Regions from separate parts of the Homo sapiens genome. Here region 1 is linked to region 2. The links are contacts of gene promoters, found by promoter capture Hi-C in human tissues and cell types (Jung and others, 2019). All regions are on one chromosome and are shown on one strand. Each heading gives the region's core, a stretch centred on a gene start or on the middle of the fragment in contact. The rest is flanking DNA. Distances are from core to core; before and after follow the strand shown.

Region 1 (2,983 bases), core at 444-2,943, 35 kb after region 2:
AGAATCACTTGAACCCAGGAGGCGGAGGTTGCAGTGAGCCGAGATCGCACCACTGCACTCCAGCCTGGTGACAGAGTGAGACTCCTTCTCAACAACAACACAAAAATTAATAAACAAATAACTAGTTTTTTTGGTACCTGGGATTGAGCTAATAATTGGGACTCTTAGTACCTCAAATCGTATTATAAAGAGTGCTACTAACTAGTAAGAGCATCTTTATTATCAGACCTGCAATTCAATACAGTTTCCACTAATATCTCAAAAGTGACAAACAAAACAACAAAACAAAACCCAAAACTTGCTACGTCATGATAACAGGGAGAATATGAGAATTTGTGCAAGAGATGGAGGTAGAGACGAGCAGCCTTTTCAAGTAGTAGATTTCATGTCCCTGTAATTTAAGTTGATTCCCATGTTTAGATTGGATGTTGAAGGTTGTCAACCCAGGATGTATGGTTTAATAATCTCAGTGACTCCAATAATTTTAATTCTCTTACTACTCACTTACAAGTGGCAGATACCTAAAACAAACTATTTTAAGAAAAAAAAATATGTACTAGAACATAGAACTAAGGAGTCCTTTCATTACCCAGGCTGATTTAATATTTTACCACTATTCTTGGGGGTGGGCTTGTTTATCGGGCCCAAGTGGGAACCCAGAGAGTTAAGGAGGCAATTCCTAAAACGAAAAGAAGTGTGTTAGCAAAAGGAGGATAGGAGTGTGCATAGCTACTATAGCCCATTACAGTGACAAAAGGGATTTAGCGTATTAACTGGAATATTTTGATGCCCATTGCTAGTGAAACTACCTTAATGACTAAAGCAATACTCTCTCTGTTACCATATGGAGTAGTTTCTTGACAAGGAAAAAGGAACACTGAGGGAAAAGAGATAGTACATACTGTGGGAGAGGAAGTGGTAGTAACAGTTAAAATCAAGTTACTTCTGGTCCTAGTTGACCCTGTAATCGTCAACTTTAAAGAGTAAATCTTGAGCAACACTCTGGTGGTAAGTGGTGCACCATCAGGAAAGGATTAGCAGAAAGTCAAAAGGGTTTGTTTTTTCCACGGAAAACACCCTGACTATAGCTTCCTAGAGTTAAAATTTGAAAGCCATTAGCAGAAACACACTGACTGATATGAACTGTTGTATTTCTTCATAGACATGTTCTAAAAGGAGTTAGCATGCTTTGTTTCGCTCATTCCATGCTCAGTAGCCTTAGGGTGCAGAACAGAGAATGCACTATGACCTTTTTTCCTACTATTGTCTCTAAATGGATCTCAGCGTGACAATAAATACTAATGTTGTAATAGGAATTGAAACACAACAGTAACAAAATTAAGGTTAAAATTCTTTTTCTTCTGTTAAAATTCTATTTCATTAGTGATACACCCCCAAAATAGTACCTATTTTTTGAAATTGTTATACTTGTTCAAAAGCTTGCAAATTAGTGTAAGCTCAGGACCTGCCGAACATCCTTTCAGCATTATGAGATTCCAGAAAATGTGAATAGGATGTTTCAGTTGTTAGGTAATTTCCAGATGCCTTTTTTTTGTGCTCAGATAATTCAAATGGCTTCTTTTCAATACTTCAGGCTTGTCATGTACACTATATTAGAGTGTGTAACATTTTTGAAGGAATTTGGCACAGGCATCGCTTTTCCACTTCTGACTCTCTAAGTTTGAAGAGTGCCTGCCAAGATCGTTATAAATACATCCTAATAAATATATTTTCACCAATTTTTGAAGTTCCCTTTTACTTCAAGTGTCAATATTGTATGTGTTACGATAAGAGTAGTTTAATTAGCTATGGTTTTTACTGATATTTTGAATAAATACACTTAGGCTATATTTATAGCAAACCTCAATATTTGCAAATCATACAGACAGCATGATTTATATGTGATCATTAAGATACACACTTAGCTTAATTTCAGTCACTATTTCTGTGTCCTTAGGTAAGTAGGAAGGTAGGTAAAATTTCCTCAAAATTATAGACACAAAATTTAGAGTGTTTCTTTGTCTTCTTTATTGCTTTTTTGGCTTAGTTGAGTCATAATTTACATTACTGTCATTTCCTGTTTTCTTACCTTAACATTACTATAACAAGAAAATGTGTAGAGTATGACTTAATAAACTGCTTTAAAAAGTTTATTATATTTTTGGATATACATAAAATTTTTAAACAATTTTAGAATATACAAGTGTTCGGCTGGGCGTGGTGCCTCATGCCTATAATCCCAGCACTTTAGGAGGCCCAGGTGGCCAGATCACGATGTCAGGAGTTCGAGAGCAGCCTGGCAAACACAGTGAAACCGTGTCTCTACTAAAAATACAAAAAATAAGCCGGGCGTGGTGGTGTGCACCTGTAACCCAGCTACTTGGGAGGCTGAGGCAGGAGAATCATGTGAACCCGGAAGGCAGCGGAGGTTTCAGTCAGCCGAAATTGAACCGTTGCACTCCAGCCTGGGCGACAGTGTGAGACTCTGTCTCAAAAAATAAATAAATAAATAAAAGAATATGTAAGTGTTCATCCATTCAAACATTTATTTCCTCATTATTTTTATAAAATCTTTCTAAATGAAGAGTGCAAATAACTCCCAAAAACTAATTTTTGCTAAAACATTTGAGGCAGCATGGTATAAGGGTTAGTCACATTCCAAAACAGTGTTATGTTATAGCGGACCTGCCATAATTTCATGCTAATATAATTCAAAACTGATTCTAATGGAGGATGGCAGGTACATTTGTTAACCTGATAAAGCAGAAATGGAAAGCAAACCTCGTTTGCAACTAACTCAGTCCACCAATATTGAGCTTATGTTATTCTTGCCAAATTTAATAATTTCTGGGATTAATACAATTTTAAAATGTGTGCATTAAGAGAGAATTTTCCCTAATGAAGATTTGCATAACTCATTTCGCAACCACACTATAACGGAAAGAAGCTTTAATTTGGATTTGATAACAGTTGGGTTGGAATC
Region 2 (3,370 bases), core at 656-3,155:
GTATTTTCTTCAATATAATAATCTTAAAGTTTTTTTTTCTATTGCTCAATGTAGCTTTATAAGTAATTAAGTCCAGCTCCTTCATATTATAGTTGAGGCCACTGAGGGTCAAGGAAGTTGAATATATGCCCAAGGTCATACAGCTAGAAGCAGCATGTGCATTAGAACCCAGAAACTCCGACTACCATTTCAATAAACAAATCCTAACTTCTTTGGCATTTCCATTTGTTATATTCTCCCTGACACAAAACCTAAGCGTGAGTCAATAATGATTAGAATTTCACCTTTTGATCCTCACAATAGGTTAAATGATAGCAGTATCTGTGGACTCACTGACTGACTTTCCTAACAGCTAAAACTCACAGTAGGCAACTATCTCCTACAATAACACAGGTATTCACACATCTTTCTTCAAGAATGTGCTTGCAGTTTTATTATGGACATTTTGTTCCTTAATTTTGAGAACCTGGGGAGAAAGGTGGGCAGAGAAATGAATGGGTCATTAGTTAAAAGGCAAGGGTTGAATTTGCAAAAGGTTGTGGCAAAGTAAGCAACAAATGGGAAAGAGTGAAGGGCATCAATATTGATCTTGCCTCTCATCTTTCCCTCTGTCTTCTTGCTTGCAGGTTTCTATTGTGTAGTCTCTCAAACAAAGCCGACTTTATTTATGGTGTGACTGATTTAACACTACTGAACCAGTCCATCATCTGCCAATTTGGTCCAATTAAAAACTGGTCATAGGGAAAACCTGGGAATTAAGCTCATTTAGAAACACAACTTCTGATTCATTTATGTCTTGCTCATTTATGTCTCCTCTTCTAAAGGACACATTTCAGGGTGTTGATTTATAGAGGTGGCTCTTTCCAGCTTCCTGAGTTTCTGTGACTCCTTTTGGTTAGGTCCATTAAAAAAGTGCACTTCTGCCTCTCTCCCCTCGTAAGGCTATTGTTAAAACATTTTAAAGAGGCTTGCCTAAGATTTCCTGCTATCCAGAATTAGAAAAATCCCAATAAACAGCTAGAGTCACCATTTTTAAAGTATGTACGCATTGCATGGACTTACGCTAACATGATTGCTTTCTCACTTAATCCTTACAACTCTTTAAGTACTATTATCCTGGTTTTGCAGTTGAGGAGGCTTTAGACTTAAACGTTCAAGTAAATCATCAAATATTATAAAACATGAAGCGACAGCTATGCTATTTGAACCAAAGGCTGCCTGATGCCAGTGCCAGCACTGCTACTCACCAAGCTCTACTGAGATTTATACCTAGACTAAGTAAAACCTCTGAACAACAACAACAACAAAATTATTTCCTCCACTTGTTTTTCCTTTTTTGCACAAGTTCTTGTAGGCAGGTAGGTGTTCCACTCCCTATACTTAGCCTCTCCCACGCCCTCTGCAATCTTTCCCTTTTGCTGCTGGAATCGTCAGAGATTGCTACTGCAGCTGGTGAGTGGGCAGGTGCAGCCACCATCTGCTCTAGGAGTCCAAATGCGCAGAAGAACCTCGCACCCAGGACCTGGCCCAGGCACCACGAATTCCAGAACATGCTGGGGACACGGCTAACCCCGCCCCCTCGCGGTGGCGATTGGCTGAACCCTTCCTGAGTGCAAAGCGCTGATTAATGAAGGCAGTTGTCTCGCCTGCAAGTTCGGGCGAGACATCTCTAAAGAGGTAAGATCCGCCAGGGGTGCTGAATGGGGGCTTCAGTTCTTCCTGCCCGAAGGGTCCTTGAGAAGCCTGTTTGTTTTTCCCGGCGCTTGTCTCCACCCATCCCCTTCTCTCATTGGCCAGACCTGGTGGGCGGGGGAGTTTCCATTGGCCGGGGGGCGGTGTCTGTCCCTGGCCGGGGTGGGGGCGGGGCCTCCGCCGCTCTGAGCTTGCCCTTGTGTCTGGTGCTTCGTAGAGCTGCCGCCGTCGCCGCTGCCGCTGCCGCCACAGCCGCCGCTGCAGCCGGAGCATCCGGGAGCCGCCACTGCCGCCGCCGCTGCCGCTGCTACCGCCACTAGCGCTGCTTCCACTGCTTCTACCTCCCCTCCCAGGACCCCGAGACACCCCGGGCGCGAGCGGCAGTGCTGCTTGCTTGCTCCTCCTCTCCCCCAGCCCTTCCCCTCCGTGACCTACCCACTCCTTGCAGCCCTCGCCCGCACCTTCTCCAACACCCCGGCATCCCTGCACCACCTGCTCGGGCAGCCCCGGCGGGCTCTGGGACTTGCTGTGCGCGCCGAGAGGAAGGCAAGCTCCAAACCCCTGCCTGGAAGACGGGCTGTCGCGGCTGCACCACCAGCAGGAGGAGGAGGAGAAGAAACTATTTCGCGATACCCCATTCTGCGGGTGCTTTGCCGCTGCCGCTTCTGCTGCCGCCGATCCGAGTCCGCGGGTTCGAACACCGCAGCGGTGGGGACGGTGGGTCCGGCGGGCGCCGGGAGGAGGACACCAGCGGAGCCCTGCACTCTCGTGCCCCGCTCACCAGCATCTACTTGCCCCCTCGTTCCTTCCCCAGCCCTTTAGAGAAGGGACCATGATTTGGAAACGCAGCGCCGTTCTCCGCTTCTACAGTGTCTGCGGGCTCCTGCTACAAGGTAATCCCCGCCCCGGCGCAGGGAACATCAACTTCTCGCCCATTCCCCATCTTCCCCATTCCACCCCATATTTCCACTCTCCCCTCCCAGTCTCCCTGTCCCCAGCGATTTCCACCCCCTCCCCCTACTCTCTGGTGCGGCAGGGGGCAGTGGCAGTTTGCACCAGCCCCTCGAATTTCTAACACTGGCTCAGCCCTGCCTTCCCAGCAGTCAGCCCCTTACGCGGCACCTTTTGCCTTCTCATTCACCTGAGCTTCCTTCATCTCACTCCATTCCCGCCAGCATCCCCCTCCCACGCCTTTTGGCTGGCAACTTGTGCCTCTCTGAACATTCCACCCTCCCGACAACCCCCACCAGCCACCTCCCACATCACGCTCTTGAGCGACCCTCTCCATCTCTTGTCATCTCTTTAACCTCCCCCTTTTCAGGTCGCCTTTTCTTTTCCCCCTCTTCCCACCATCATCATATCCGTGTGTCTTTAAAAAGTGTGTGAGAGCCTGGGAGCGAGCTACCAAGACGGGCGAGAACAGCAGCAGCGACAGCACCGTGTGCATTGCAATAACATCCCCGGGGGGGAAATGTGTTCTGAGACGTGTCATTTACCTAGGAAGAGAGAGGGGACTCTGTCTGGGATTTAAAAAAAAAGAAAAGAAAAGAAAAAGAAAGGAAAAAGAATAAGAAAAAAGAAAAAATGAGTGAATGAATGAATAAATAAACCAAGAATTTAAGAAAGGGGAGAAAAGGCAAAAAAATTAAAAGACCCAAACCCACTTTATCAACACATT

What was found. The method cuts DNA at HindIII sites, captures the fragments that hold promoters and counts their contacts. A contact is called where the count stands out against the background at its distance.
Region 1: a fragment that was not itself captured here is called in contact with the fragment with the promoter of CADM2 in region 2 in 1 of the 25 tissues and cell types used here (dorsolateral prefrontal cortex).

The regions. Positions count from the first base shown.
Region 1 is chr3:84,992,538-84,995,520 of GRCh38, forward strand. All of the region lies in intron 1 of CADM2 (cell adhesion molecule 2), which reads left to right. Among named protein-coding and RNA genes, the nearest start is that of CADM2, 35 kb to the left of the region's middle. The HindIII fragment of the contact is 3,667 bases long and covers 1-2,983 here.
Region 2 is chr3:84,957,084-84,960,453 of GRCh38, forward strand. It overlaps CADM2 (cell adhesion molecule 2), which reads left to right and starts at 1,906. Exons shown (of 10, transcript NM_001167675.2): 1 at 1,906-2,585. The coding sequence starts at 2,525. The HindIII fragment of the contact is 15,126 bases long and covers 1-3,370 here.